Regions from separate parts of the Homo sapiens genome. Here regions 2 and 3 are each linked to region 1. Evidence: promoter capture Hi-C in 16 types of primary human blood cells and fetal thymus (Javierre and others, 2016). All regions are on one chromosome and are shown on one strand. Each heading gives the region's core, a stretch centred on a gene start or on the middle of the fragment in contact. The rest is flanking DNA. Distances are from core to core; before and after follow the strand shown. Region 1 holds the start of INO80B (INO80 complex subunit B). Region 2 holds the start of SFXN5 (sideroflexin 5). Region 3 holds the start of MRPL19 (mitochondrial ribosomal protein L19).

Region 1 (4,971 bases), core at 1,318-3,817:
GGGAAGGAAAGGGTGGAACCCTGTGCTCCGCTGCAGTAGCGCACCATGGGGGCCGGAGCCGCAGCCCGCCCTCCCCGCCGCTCGCCCCGTGCGCCCCCCCGGCCTCCCCGCCCACTGGTCGCCGCAGTCTTGGTGAGGCGCTCGATAGTCTGGTTCTTGTGCTCTTCTGCCCGCCGCGCCGCCTGGAGCCGCCGCTTCCGCGCCCGCTCCTCGCGCTTCAGCAGCATCTCCTCTGTGAGGGCGGGAGGTGGGCAGCCCTCAGCTACAGGCAGCGGCAGCATAGGGGAAGGTTGACTCCGCGCCTTCTGGAGCAGAGCTCGCTAGGGAGAGACAGAGACGGGGTGCTGTCTGAAAATGGAGGAAGATGGAGAGGCGAGGTCGGCCAGATCGGGGGAGGGGAAAGAAGGGACATGGAAGGCAGGGTCTTGAGCAGTGCAGGCCTTCGGAGGCGGGATATTAATTAATGAGCACCCTCTCCAGGACACCTTCCATAGGTTCCTCTTCATAAATACTGCCTCCTCCCAGATCTCCTGACATTTAGCTTTAGGTCCTTATCTCTCAAGGGGAGAAGCATCAGTAATGTTACCTGCCTGACCTGTGCACCAAAACTGTACCAGCTTTCCCAGAGGTCTGTTGTTATTTTTAATCTTATCTCAATAGAGAGTATCAGGTGGATAACTGCTCAAGCCAAAATCCCAGGCTTAGCCTTGATATATTTTCTCTCCATTCCCCTCCCCACAAGTATCTACTTCCAAAATATAGCCATAATTCATCTGATTTTCTCCATCTCCACCACTTTCGTCTTGGTTAAAGCAACCACTGCCTCTCAGCTGATTACTTCAACAGCTTCCTAGTTGTTCTCCATACTTCTATCTCTTGTCTCCACGAAGATTCATTCTCTACAAAGATGCCAAAGTAATCTATTGAAATGTAAACCAAGTATGTCACTTCTCTGCGTACAGCCCTTCAGTGGCTTGTCCACTTTTTCTTCTCCTTTGCTAGACATGTTCCAGTCTCAAGGTCTGTGCGCCTGCTGGTCTCTGCTCAAAAGCTCTTCTGGTATTGCAAATGTTATCTCTTCAAAGAAGCCTTCTCTAACTACCCTAATGTCTCTCTTCCATCATTTCTATCTGTTTGTTTACGCCACTTTCTATTTCATCACCCTTTTCTTTTTGTCATAAACCATATAGCTTTTTGAAATTATTTACTTATTTACTTCCCAGCCCCCCAACACACACACTAGAATACTAGCTCCAGGAGAACAGAAACTTTGTCTTTTCTCTACTATCGATATCCCCAATGCCACGCAAAGTGCGTGGGTCGTGGAGAGTTCTCAATACTGTATACATTTGGTGAGTGAATAAACAATGAACCAACATACCTGTCGAGCAGTAAGCAGCCGCTCATTGATCTCCTTCTTGAGGTCTCCATTGTCATCCAGCTCCCCCTTCTCCAGGGCATCCAGCCACCTCTGTTCCTCCTCTTCCTCCTGACCCCCTAACCCTCCTGATAGGTCCCGAAGTGGAGAGGGAGAGAGATTACTGTCTTCATCTGGGAAGGAAGTTGGAGAAAGAAAAACAGAATTGTTCAGATGGGGCACCCTAATTTGGCTGAGTTAATACTGGGACATGGAAAATCCTAACCCATTTCAGAACCAACCTTCTTTCTTTAGGCGGGTATAATAAGAAACCCAGTTTCCCCACCTCCAGATCCTCACCCAGCCAGGCACGGTACTGCTCAAGGGGGACTCCTTCCATAGGTTCCTCTTCATTATCCACAACCATAAGGGGAGAGGGTGAGCGAGGCCCCTCTGGGATCACAGTGAAGGTAGGAACACTGCAGAGAAGCAACACTACTCTTTAAAATGAGCAAGCGTCTCCTCCTCCTACTCCGTAGCTACACCCAACTTTCCCCACCCTCTTAGACTCTTGCTGCCTAAATCTGGACCCTGAAGTCACAGTGTCCATTCGGTCTTCTAGAAAGCCCAGTCGGCTTCTAACTACTATCTCTGCTCCTAAAGTTCCCCTTATAAAACTATGACCCTCTTGGCCTCACCTCTTGGTCCCCAGGACTTGTCCCCCAAGCTTGATTTTGAGTTTGAGCTGAGGCTTGGCAGGGGACGGCTGCGTGGGCCCGGCGTCTTCTTCCTGATGGTGTTTCTTCTTGTGTTTCTTCTTGTGCTTCTTGTGTTTTTTCTTGTGCACTCCATGGCCATGGGCACCCGCCAGGCTCAACTCCAGGGCTTCTCCTGTGGAAGGAAAGCCTGTCGACAGTGTTTGGCCGGAGGGTGGCAGGGGAAGCCCTGAATAACCTAAGCCCCTACTGGATCCCACCCTTCCCGCAGTACTCGCTGTTACCATAACAACAGCACCGCCTTTCTCCTTGCCACCTGTGGCCGAAGTACCCTGGACTCTCCGAGGAGCAAGAACGGGACTTCTTTTCTAACACGACCTAAATTGCTTGATCTATTCGCGCTTACCCGGCTCAGGGGCCTCCATAGCCCCAGAGGTGCTCCCACGCCGCCACAGCTTACTCATGAGGTCCTGCGAGGAAAGGGGACTAGAAATGGTTGGGACACACGCAGACACGCCTTTTCCGCCCCGCGGAAAAACTGGAGCCAGCAAAACAACCAGTTACTTCCGGTTCATGGCAACCATCCTTGTGCGGGGCACGCTTCGCGTCCAAAATCGTCCCTGAGAAACGAGGATCCTTCCAACGAACGTTCCGGTCCCTCTGAGGTCGGGACAGCCCAAATGGGCAGGGCTTTCCCCTGGCTCCGCCTCCCCACGCTAGCTTTCAGAACTCAGCGCGGATGAGTCAATTATTGAACACAAGTTTGGTGAATGTATACACTAGACCAAGTGCGGGAAGCTAGTCTAAGAGGATGCAAAGATGAATATGAACACCGCCCCTGTCCTTGAGGAACTCACAGTTGGGTGGAGGAATACATAAACTATATTGATGACAAAATGGCCGAAATGGTTAAACAGCACGAGTGCCCTAAGAGCAGATGCAGTTTAGGTATTTAAACTTCAATTTTCATAAGTAGGGAAATGAATAAATGAATTACGGTGCAGCTGTACAATGCGGAACACCATATTGCTAAGAAAAGTTGAGTTGTAAGTAATTAATGAGATTGACACAGAATTTAAACAATCTAAGTGTCCTGATGAATTGGTGTATCCATACAGTGGGATGTTAAGCAGCTTGGAAAAGAAATGAGGCGCCCCAGAAGGCTATCTAGGAAATTGGTAAGAGTCATTTGCTGATGAGCATCTAGAGAACAAGGGTGGATGGCGACCTATTTTTTTATGATTATACCCTCTTGTGCCTTTTGAATTTTGTATAAAACGTGTATATTTTACCTCATTTTAAAAAAGACATAAAAACAGGTAGGTTTGTATGTGCTGATACACGAAATAAGAAAAGTAAATTTCCCATCCTGGCTAATACGATGAAACCCCGTCTCTACTAAAAATACAAAAAAAAAAAAAAAAATTAGCCGGCGTGATGGCACGCGCCTGTAGTCCCAGCTACTCGGGAGGCTGAGGCAGGAGAATCGCTTGAACCCGGGAGGTGGAGGTCGCAGTGAGCCGAGATCGCGCCACTGCACTCCAGCCTGGTCGACAGAGCGGGACTCCGTCTCAAAAAAAAGAAAAAAAAAAAAAAGTAAATTTCAAGATTATGTGATCTGATTTTTAAAAGCATAATATACTAGCAAATACATAGAAAAAATTGAGGAATGTATACCTGTTAATGTTGGTTAACTGTAGAAGTTGGGGTTGAGGAACTTTCACTATTTAGGTATGTAATGTATTTTCTTACAGCCAATATATATCACGTTTATAATTAGAAAATAACACCTATATACATATATCTAAATATATATGAGTGTCTGAGCAAGGTAACAGCAGTGAAAAGTCTCTTACATTTCAGTGATAAAATTATCAAGAATCAATGAGCAATTATATTGGGGAATCCAGGATTAAGTCATGTAGTATGTGATTATGAAAAGGGATTTTGGAGTCAGACAAGCCTATTATCAAATCCCAGTTTCACCATTTATTAGCTATGCAACCTTGGGCCTAAAATTATTTAAGCTCTCTGAACCTGAGAATCCAGCTCTATAAGATGGAATACAGTAGGATCCACCGCTATGAGGGCTCTTTCAAGGAATAAAGGAAATCAAGAACTCATGATACTTAGGGTGGCAGCAGGCACAGGCACAGGCACATAGTAGATGCTTCAGTAAGCAAATAATAATAACTGACTCATAGGTTTCTAGCCTAAGTATTTAGCGGGAAGGTGGTATTTTCAGTAAGGAAGATAACATAGGAAGAGAAGCAAGTTAAGAAGGGAATTATTTAGTTTTGCCCAAGGCGACTTTGAAGTGCCTGTGGGAATGCCTGGGTGGAGGTGGAATAGCTGAGAGGAGAAACCAAGGATGAAAGTGTGAGTGGGGATGTCATCAGCGTAATACTGGAGGCCCCCAAGTGATGGGAGTAGATGAGACACCCAGAAAGAGTAAGTAGATAAGAGGAAAAGAACCAGGAACAGAACCAAGTGAGCACCTGTCCTGCACAGCCAGGCAGAGGGGCCAGACAGGGTTGAGAAGGTCAGGAAAGGCAGAAAGTATCAAGGGACTAAGGCTGTGATCAGCTGGGTACAGTCCTTCAGAGGGTAGGCTGAGCTCCAAGAAGAGGATGGATTTTATCACAGTGTGAAGGCAATACTCTTTTATCACCAGGAGTTACAGTGAGGGATCACTTGCAATTCATATTTGTAGAATACGTTAGAGTTTATAACCTGCCTATATATTCCTTCTCTCCCTTGGCCCCCACAGCATCTCCATAAGGGAGATACCATTGTTTCCATCTTATAAATGAGGAAACTGAGGCTCAGAAAAAGAAATGTTTTTGCCAAAGTCACAAAGTTAGGGAGTGGCAGAGCCAGACTCAAACAGAGGCTTCC
Region 2 (4,971 bases), core at 1,737-4,236, 1.4 Mb after region 1:
CCATGTCTATTCTTGTTGCCTGTCCAGATGCCAAAACTCTGTGTTGCTGCAGGGTTTGAACTTTTGGAAACCAATTAAAATGTGCCTTTGGTGGGCGGGGTCAAGAGCCCCTGGATGTCGACCTCTCCCGCTGTGTGGCGTCCCCCTCCCACCTGTTGAATACATAGGGATGGCTCTCTCAGGGCCCTGGGAATGGGAATGGACAGCACTGCTGTGGGCTGTTCCCCTCCCCTAAAGTTAATCTCTTGGTCTGGCCAAGTTGCTGCTCCCTCAACCTTCCTGCTGTCTTCCCCTCCCTCAACCCCAATAGGAGGATCCCAGGATAAACACTGCTGGGCAGGCGGGCAGGCAGGCCTGGGGCTGCCCTGCTCACTCTCATTGTCTGGCCTCAGGACTTAGCCATACTAGACCAGTCAGCTTGCCTGGAAGAGGGAGGTCCCACTATGCCTTTGGGAGACACCTATACTTAGGAAAAAGCCTTTGTTGTCCTCCCATCCATCCATTAAGCTGCTATCTCAGCCTGTCCCTTCTGCCCCAGGGGCTTGCCTGGCTTGGCTGCAGTGCACTTTGAAATGAAGTATCTGTCCTTTGGCCCAGCCCCTGGTTTGCTTGTAGAAAACATGGTAGGCTTCCCCAAGGCATCTGCAGGGAACTTTGGCAGCTTGGGGCACCCTGAATTAGCAAAAATGGGGGGTGATGAGGTGCTGAAGAAGGATACTTAACAGCTTAGTGAGGAGGCAAGAGCTCCTCTGGGACCACCACTTCTTCAGGAGAGGGCCTGTGGGCTTGCTTTTGGAAGGCCTCAGGCAGACACGTGCCCTCTGGGTGATGTCTGTCTGCTGCCAGGATGGAGCAGAGGAGCGCCACACATGGAGGAAAGCCCCTGTAACGTTACCTACCTTAAACTCCACTCATCAAATCTGAGAAAAGTATCCACTGGTCCCCAGGGTTTCAGTCATGCTTTTGGGGGTCATTGGGTATTAGAGAAGTAAGTATCTTTTCTGAGAGAGGGGGAGTCACCCCCCCTACTGGGGATTCCTCTGGGCTTTATTCACTCCCAGCCCTGGCCCTGACCTTTGTGGGCCTCCCTAATGCCCAGGGCATGGATGGCTTCAGAGGAGTTTTTGAATCGAAGCCCAGGGTCCTTGTTGATGTTTCTTCTCCTAGCCACACTTGGAGGAAAGTTGCAGGTGGGTTGGGCAGGGAGCAGGCATGGTTCTGCTTTGCTGTTTGTCTTCCTAGTTAAGGCTCTTTATAAAGAGCTTGTTCTTCATGTTTTAAGCACTTTATGAAGAATAAAACATTCATGTACTGCAGGTGGCTCTGTTGTGTTCCTGTTTTGGAATGAACAGTTACAGGAGGCTGCTGTGGGAGAAAGCACCTTAAATCAAGGTGATGGGATTCTTGGATGACACTGTCCCTGCCCCTTATAAGGGGGCAGCAGCACAGTGTTGCCCAGCAGCCTGAACTTAGTCTTTTCTGACTCCCAGGGTACCCACATTTATTGCGCACCTAAGATGGGCCCATTTATTGGTAATACAGAGGGTAAGAAATGGATTCCTATTCTCAAGTTGCATGGTCTAGCAGGGGAAGATAAGATACAAATCCAAGATACAAATAGTTCTTCATGGCTAGATAGAATCTCTAAGATAAGATACAAATCCAAGATACAAATTGTTCTTCGTGGCTAGCTAGAATCTCCCCCTAGCTTTATGAAAAGTGTTTCTTGTGGTTCAACTACTAGAGGATGAAAAACTTTGACTGCTACAGCTCATGTAGTGTCCAGAAACACTGGCAGACATGAGCCAACCCTGCACTCCACCACGAGACTAATGAGACCCAAAGTGGAGTTCCCTAGAAGACCAAATATTTCTACTGTCATCTTGGGCAAAACAGGCAGCTCCCGAAGTCTGGCTCACTGACCAGGTAATTCAGCTGGGAATCTTCAGCTAATCCATTCTACAACTGTATGTGTTTATTATCCATACTGATCCTTACTCCACAATCTGTAATACTCCCCCTTACCTAACACCCTCCCCACCCACCCTAGTCCCAAGTTCTCCTCCTGCCCAGGAATTAGGCCCAGGAGGGATCTTCCTTGGTTGGCCAGACAAGGTGAAAGCTGCCAGGGCTCTTAATCCCCCACTGATGAACTCACAGCCAACACTTATTTGAGTCTCTACTGTGAGCCCTTTTATGTCTGGCTCTGAAAACTGAAGTGAATCAAAAAGTCATAGCCCCTGCCCTGTGAACTTTACAGTAAGAAAGACTGTCCAGAACAGTAAGTAGTTGTGAGTGCAAAAGAGAAGTGCTGGGTGCCACGGAGCCTCTGTGGGATTTTGTGCAAGCAGAGTGATGGACTGGGAAATGCAATGTTTAGGCTAAAGCCAGAAAGCCAGCATCAGGCGAAGATTTAGTCTTCCGGGTACAGAATGTTCAGGGGTCGGGAGGCGGGCAGGCCCCAGCATGCTCCAGGAACTGAGTGTCAGGGCAGCCGGAGAGCACAGGACGAGTGGGCAGGGTGGCGACGGAGGAAAGTACGAGAAGGTCCGCAGTGCAACTCCTTGGAGAAAGCCTTCCGAGGTTAACCCTACTCCGCCTGGAGTCTTTGCCCATCTGGTCCCAGGTTCCCCCTTGAATGGGACCCTTCTGCGCTGCCTGGCCCCAGGAGCGACGCCCACGGCAGCAACTCTAACTTCTGGGGGCAACTAAGCAGCGAGGGGTGGCCCGTGGTCGTCGTACAGGAACACCTTTCCTGGACTGCCGACCTTGCACCTTGCAACGCGGACAGCGGGCACCGAGACCTCTCCGGACGGCCGCAACTCTCCGCAGTCTACGGTTGTAAGCGCCGCGACGCGAAAAACTACACTCCCCACAACGCCTTGCGCCTCCCGCTCGCTGCGGTTGATTAGGGCCAATCGGGAGAGGCAGCTGTGGCGGGGGCCGAGGAGGGACATTTTAAAAGGGCCGGAGATTGCGGGCGTCAGTGGCCATGGCGGATACAGCGACTACAGCATCGGCGGCGGCGGCTAGTGCCGCTAGCGCCTCGAGCGATGCACCTCCTTTCCAACTGGGCAAACCCCGCTTCCAGCAGGTGAGGACCGGGCTGTGGTCTGCGGGCCGGCGGGTGGCAAAGAGAGGACGAGCAAACTCCCCTCCAAAGTCCCCTTCCGCCCAAGGGTCTCCCACCCGCGGCCAGCGGAGCCTGCAGCTAGCGCCAGGGGGGGAACCTCGGTCACAGTCACCCTTTTCCCATTGGTCAACGGGGCGGGCGCGGACTCCCATCTTGGCTTCCTATTGGCCCTTGGCGCCGTCACTCCCCGACTGCCCGCGCCCTCTAGCCTTTCCCGCCCGCGGCGCCCTGTGATTGGCCACCGGCGGCTGCGGTCAAGGTCCCGAGCGCCCGGCTTCGAGCGGCTGCTCAGGGTCGCTCCGGGTTGTGCAGCTGCCCGCCCGGGACGCAAAGTTCTAGTCTGGCCCTGGATGGGAAGTTGGCGTGGCCGGGATGCCTTCTAACTTTTTCCCCCGGTGGGGACTGACGTTCCTTTCGAGCTGCTGGCGGTGCCGCCGGGCAGCGTCGCGCCCCGCGGTCACTCCCCAGCCCTGGCCCCCAAGCCGGGCTCGGCGCGCGCAGCAGGTTGAGGGGGCGAGTGCCGAGGCGAGCGGCGGTCCGGCGTCCCCCGTCCCTGCTCTCCATCTCGGGCTGAGGATTCGCTGACGCAGCAAGCCGGCCGATGCCCTGAGGGGACGCAGCCAGGGCGTGCGGGGGAAACGCTGTGTCATCCCCTGGGGCCGTCGTCCCTCCGAGGGGCTGCCGCCTGGGAACCCCCCCCCAGCCTCTTCCTCGCTGTGTTCTCCGCGGAGGGTCTCCCGCGCCCGGGCCCCCGCGCCGCCGGGGACTGGCTCTGGGCACACCCGCTCAGGCTCTTCGGGGCACGGCGACAGGGGTCCTTTCCCTCCGGGACCTCCTCTGGGGCGTCGCCGACTCGGCCCTAGACTGCGGAGGCGGGGGTGGAACGCGGAGCCCGGGCGCCTGGTTGGGCCCGGAGACCGGAGCCGGGGAGGGGCCGCTCCCGCGCCGCAGACCCTCGGGCTCCCGCGCCTCCCGCACCAATGAGACGGAATTTATTAGGAAACAGGCAGAGAGACCGCTGAAGTGAACCGGGGCTTGCCAGGGGTGGGCGGCAGCCGAGGCGGCCAGAAAAGAACTTTGAAGGAAGAAAGGAAATTGTGCTAAGGTCGGTGCGGTGGCTTTTTTTTTCTTTTTTTGTTGTTGTGGTGGAAGGGGACTGGTTCCAGCAAGGGGGTGCCCCGAGCTTTGCTGATAATTAGGGAACTTGGCTCCTGAGCCGTCTGAAAAAAATGTCCCCAGTGTTTCTTAACAGGACTTTAATTCCTTTTAAAAGTAGGCCATCTCAGCATGTAGGTATCCGAGGCGAGACTGGCATCTTCCTTCCAGTGTAGGAGGCCATCTAGGGCGAGAGTGTCGGGGTGTCCCTGCCTGGACTTGAGTGACCTTATTACATTGCCTGTCCCCGCTCCCACCCCCATTCTGCTCGTTCTTAAAGGCTCAGTCGGGCCTGCCTCTCTGGCAAACACTTGCTCCCTTCTTCTCTGGTCCCATCAGATCGCAGGCTTCCTCCTGCACATCTCTTTGGCCACCTGAGTCAGATCCTCATAGCTCTCCATACAGTCTGCCCTGTGGTCTTCTAAATGTTTGCTGTGTGACGACTTGGTTTCCTCAAACCCCCTGTAGGCCTTTTGCAAGAAGGGGCTGATCTTGCCCTTCTCTGCCTCTGTCTTACCCTGATGGAGACAGGTTAGGCATATAGTAATGTGCCGAGTAAAAGATTTGTGTTTCCTTTTTTTTTTTCTTTTTCTTTTTGTCCTGGTGTCTGTTATCTGTATGTGGCACTAGGGACATTCAGTGACCTAACAGACATTTATCAAATACGTCTTAGTGGCTTATAT
Region 3 (4,971 bases), core at 956-3,455, 1.2 Mb before region 1:
AGGTTTGACTGTTTGGCAAAGTTTCAGAAGGCCCCCCTTACATTTCTTTTTACTTTTCATATGCATGTATGTCTGGGCAACATATATTGTTTCGTATAATTTTGTTTTTGTTTTTTTCTGAGACAGAGTCTTGCTCTATCGCCCAGGCTGGAGTGCAGTGGCACGATCTCGGCTCACTGCAACCTCGGCATCCTGTGTTCAAGCAATTCTTCTGCCTCAGCCTCTCGAGTAACTGGGATTATAGGCACATGCCACCACACCTGGCTAATTTTTTTTTTTTTTTGTACTTTTAGTAGAAATGGGGGTTTCGCCATGTTGGCCAGGCTGGTCTCGAACTCCTGACTTCGTGATCTGCCCTCCTCGGCCTCCCAAAGTGCTGGGATAACAGTCGTGAGCCACCGCACCCGGCCTATAGTTTTAAAACTTCATAAAAATAGCATCCTACTACATTAATGATTCTAAAGGTTTTTTTTACACACAGATTTGTGAAAATCTTCCATGTTTAAAAGTGAGCTCTAATTCACTCATTTTTCACTGCTATACAATATTCTGTCATATGAATGTATTTGCCTGTTCACCTACTGATGGATATCTAGGCTGCCTCTAAATTTTGTTACAAAAAATACTGTTACATTCATTCTCGTGCTTGTCTCCTTGTACATACACGTTAGGAGTTTAAGTTGTGTGCTTTCTGAGTGAGAAGGTATACACAACTTAAACTTAGTAAATTCTGTCAAATTGTTCTCTAGAGCATATAATTTACATTCCTATTTAAGTGAATTCTATTAAATGCCACTGTTTAAAAGAGATATTCCATTTCTACCCTCAAAAGCAAAGTTTTATGAAGAAATATTTTCTGAATCTCTTAGTTCTCTAACTCCAAGTTTACTTCTATTTAAATCCGTGGAATATTTTAAATGTTAAAAAAAGAAAAGAAAAAAAAAAGCCAGGCGTGGTACCAGTAGTTCCAGCTACTCTGGAGCCTGAGGCGGGAGGATCACTTGAGCCCAGAAATTTGAGGCTGCAGTGAGCTAAAATCACCACTGCACTCCAGCCTGGGAGACTGAGAGAGACTCTGTCTAAAAAAAATTTAAAAAATAAAAAAATTAAAAATCCCAGAAGTAATCCAATCAATAATCTACAGCCCTTTCAAAAAGCCTATAATCATATCAGGTTTTTCCTCTGAAAACTGGCTTTTTAAAAAGGTTGCTACATAGCTCTCTTTTCAGACCTTAAGTCCTTTAAATTTACATGTACCTCCAAGATTACCACCATTCATATAAGTTTTTATTCACACTATTTTGATGAGTAAGTTTCAGACACAATTTAGTGGCCAGTTTTACTGTGCTTTGTCTGCCAAAACTTCCAACCTAAACCATAGCAAATTTTTTAAGTTGGCCAATCGATTCCTATCCAGGGTTAAGGGTCTTTTGAGAGAAAAGAAGAGCTCTTGGACGTAAACAGGTATAAACAGGATATACCTCAGAGAAAAACTCTGGTACAGGACAAATACCACAGAGAAAAGAGTTTAAAATATGGGGAACCCCTACTTGAAGTTCTGACTCAATAAAACTGCAAAGAAGTTCAATGCTGGCTTGGGGAGAAGTGAGAAAGAAAGAACAGTGTGGTGCGCTGGCTCTTGAATCCTACACACCTGCTCGTGCAGGGGGAGGTGCAGCCCCCACCTTAGAGCCGGGACCTCGAACGCGAACGCGCTCACGCGCGCACCGACCCCAGTTGCCGGCCTAGCGCCAGGGCAGTGCCTCACCTGCGTTCCGGTTCCACGGGGCGGTGCTTGTCCACGATGACCGGTTTCGGCGGCGGTTGGAACGCACCGGGCTCGGAAGGCCCAGTGCTCTGCTGCCGGACAGGCCCCGCGTGGACCCCTGCGGGAGCGGACGACGGAGGTCAGAACTCTCGTGCCAACCCTGAGATCCCGCAGAGCCCCGCAATCTCCCCCAACCCGGCGTCCCACGGGGGACCAACGCTGGGGTTGCCTCTGATCTCCAGGTTCGCCTCCCCCATCCTGACCCTGGGCCCCTAACGCGCCCCAGCTCGCAAGTCCGGCTCCACTTACTGCAGGCGATAGAGGCCGGCGGGGGGAGCAGAGTCCTGGCGGCTTGGAAACTCCGGCCTAGGCCCATTGCAGCCCAGTGCCCCGCTGCAATGCAGGCCGCCATGCCAGCTAGCTCACGTCAAGACTACAGCTCCCAGTAATCAGTGCGACGAGGTTGTTGCTGTCTGCCACCATATGGCGGCTGCTATGGGACAAAATGGATAAGTCTCTCCTCGCTCCTTTCCTGATGTCTTAGGAAAAGTGCACGTTTCTCTAGTTCCTCGTAATGCGCCAAGTTACACCCCTCCACAGGGGTGTTCTCCCAGCCTAGAAAGCTTTTTCCTCCCCCTATGAATCCACTCTATCTTCTCAGACAAGCTTTCGCTATGCGAAAATCCCATTGTAGGCCGTCTTTCCCACTGGGTGCCTTCGATTGGCAGCTCTGATCTCATTTGCAATTCTTTCTTGTGTAATTATTAGATTAGTATTTAAATCTGCCATTATACTATAATGAGGCAAGGGAAGGGATAAAGTCTTCTTTTTGCTCACCATGTTATCCCAGCACCTAGCACCTACCTGGGCCCTCACTAACATCTTTTGTTTTGTTGAGACAAGGTCTTCCTCTGTTACCCAGGCTGGAGTGCAGTGGCGCGATCATGGCTCTGCAGCCTCCAACTCCTGATGTCAGGAGATCCTCTCACCTCAGCCTCCCGAGTAGCCAAGACTACAGTCTCGCACCATCACGCCCAGCTAATTTTTCTAATTCTTTGCTGAATGCACAGAAAAGAGAATAGAATAGTTCCTGACAGAACTGCTGGCCCATAGTCCTTGAGACTACACAAAGCATTAACCCTTTGAGGAACCCAAATGAATTTGGGCTGGGCAACTGTGGGTATGGATAGGTGGGAGAAGTAAAGCTGGAAAAGGTAAATTGTAAGTCTTGTTAAGAAATTTGGAAAATGACTGGGCGTGGCCAGGCATGCCTGTAATCCCAGCACTGTGGGAGGCCGAGACAGGAGGGTCCCTTGAGCTCATGAGTTGGAAACCAGCCTGGGCAATATAGTGAGACCGTATCTCTAAGAAACAAACACACAGCCGGGCGCAGTGGCTCACGCCTTTAACCCCAGCATTTTGGGAGGCCGAGGCGGGCAGATCGCCTGAGGTCAGGAGTTTGAGACTAGCCTGGCCAACATAGTGAAACCCCGTTTCTACCAAAAATAAAAAAAATGATCCAGGTGTGGTGGCAGGCTCCTGTAATCCCAGCTACTTGGGAGGCTAAGGCAGGAGAATCGCTTGAACCTGGGAGACAGAGGTTGCAGTGAGCCGAGATCGCGCCATTGCAACAAGAGCGAAACTCCGTCTCAAAAAAACAGAAAAAGAAACACACACAAAAAAAGAAATTTGGAATTTGTTATTTCAGCAGTGGTTATATAAGGATTGAACACTTAGAGTAATGTGATAATTTAACTACATAATAGTCATTCCAGTTGCATTAATGTCCCAAAGCTACCTCAAATTCAGCCTATCCATACTGAGTTCATCTTTTTCAGCTCCAGACTTCCTTCCCAGTATTGGCTATCTCAAGGAATGGCTTCAGCATCCACTCTCTTGCCTAAGCCAAAAATCTCAGTGCCATTCTTGATTCCTCCCTGTCTCCTCCTGGATGAAGTTCCAAAAACTATGCCTGACACCGTCAAATATCTCAGGAATCCATATACTTTCTCATCCTCCCATCCATATTTCCAATCTAGGTCAACATATTTTCTCTCTTCAGGATCCCTGGAGATCCCTGCAACAGCCTTCTCATTAGTCTTCTTGCCTCTGGTTACCTCCAGTCCTTCACGCAGCAACCAAAAAAAGATGGCTCAGAAATGCATACCCTGTTCTTTCCTTTCCCCAGTTTAAAGCCTTACTGTTTACTTTTGACAGAAGTCAAATGCTCATAAAAGCAACCAACCTCTGCAGCTTGGCCTCTATACTCTGACTTGCCATCCTGAAGAACATGAGCTGTTACATCAGCCTGAGGAACAGGGCCATGTTTTGAGCACAGAATTCAAGATGCTGTGAAGAAAGACAGGGCCTTCTATTTTAACTCTAGCTTCTTTGATTAGAACAAGAATTTATTCTATAAATGACAAGGAATCTCACAACCAAAATTTCAGATGAGCAATATTTTGGCTCTTCTACCTACCCGAAAAAGTAGACTTCAAGCCCTTAAGAGTAAAAGGGAGGAGAGGCAAAGATAATCATGACTGGCAGTGGTGAAGATTTTTCTGTATTAACCATGCCCAGAACACGTGGCCTTCACTCTTGCTGGGATTGGTCCTAAAGGTAGGGGCAGAGAAATAAAAGACAGACCTTCACAGGAGGACAGCAGGATTTACTAGACATTGCCAAGCCACTCCTGCTGCCCTCTCCTCTTCCACAGATGAAGGAATAGTTGTGTAGAGTTTTACAAAATTGGAAGAATGAACCTAAAGAATCTTATCTAATTTTCTCCCGTATTCTTGCTCATCCAACATATATCAGGCCGTTTTGACCTTATCTTAATTTGGAGAACAAGCTGGAGTTTAAATTATTCCAACTTAAGTTGTTATTAAACAACTTCATAGAGCAAAATCAAAGAGCACAGAGCTGGCTCAACCATTTTATGAGCTGATCACAGGAATAGAACTTTAATTATTTACTTCTGTGTTTTACACCCTTGGAAAGGAGATCATGAACATCATTACATAATGTTCAGCCAAGGGAAGAAAGTATTCCAGGCAAACTGGCTGCTTCAGGTTATTGTGACATCAGGATCCTTGTCGGTTTTGCTTGTTATTACATCCTCTATATTTAGTAGAGTATCTGGCACCCAATAAATATTTCTAAGTAAAATTAGATAGATCATTCTGATTGTACTTTAGAAAATG

The links. The method cuts DNA at HindIII sites, captures the fragments that hold promoters and counts their contacts. A CHiCAGO score of 5 or more calls a contact.
Region 2: a contact is called between the fragment with the promoter of SFXN5 here and the fragment with the promoter of INO80B in region 1, in 1 of 17 cell types (neutrophils). The highest score is 7.9, in neutrophils.
Region 3: the fragment with the promoter of MRPL19 here is called in contact with the fragment with the promoter of INO80B in region 1 in 7 of 17 cell types (naive B cells, naive CD8 T cells, monocytes and 4 more); the score reaches 7.8 in naive B cells.

What each region holds. Positions count from the first base shown.
Region 1 is chr2:74,452,683-74,457,653 of GRCh38, reverse strand. It overlaps INO80B (INO80 complex subunit B), which reads right to left and starts at 2,567. Exons shown (of 5, transcript NM_031288.4): 1 at 2,480-2,567; 2 at 2,056-2,248; 3 at 1,718-1,836; 4 at 1,382-1,551; 5 at 1-320. The coding sequence starts at 2,537. INO80B-WBP1 (INO80B-WBP1 readthrough (NMD candidate)) reads right to left here and starts at 2,631. Exons shown (of 8, transcript NR_037849.1): 1 at 2,480-2,631; 2 at 2,056-2,248; 3 at 1,718-1,836; 4 at 1,382-1,551; 5 at 1-320. RefSeq lists a silencer at 1-203 and enhancers at 344-413, 2,464-3,053. The HindIII fragment of the contact is 3,309 bases long and covers 2,087-4,971 here.
Region 2 is chr2:73,069,727-73,074,697 of GRCh38, reverse strand. It overlaps SFXN5 (sideroflexin 5), which reads left to right and starts at 2,986. Exons shown (of 14, transcript NM_144579.3): 1 at 2,986-3,094. The coding sequence starts at 2,993. It overlaps RAB11FIP5 (RAB11 family interacting protein 5), which reads left to right. Exons shown (of 6, transcript NM_001371272.1): 6 at 1-1,316. RefSeq lists enhancers at 2,388-2,867, 3,068-3,117 and a silencer at 3,258-4,047. The HindIII fragment of the contact is 14,604 bases long and covers 1-4,971 here.
Region 3 is chr2:75,644,017-75,648,987 of GRCh38, reverse strand. MRPL19 (mitochondrial ribosomal protein L19) reads right to left here and starts at 2,205. Exons shown (of 6, transcript NM_014763.4): 1 at 2,078-2,205; 2 at 1,769-1,886. The coding sequence starts at 2,180. RefSeq lists enhancers at 1,976-2,275, 2,111-2,405. The HindIII fragment of the contact is 2,636 bases long and covers 1-2,393 here.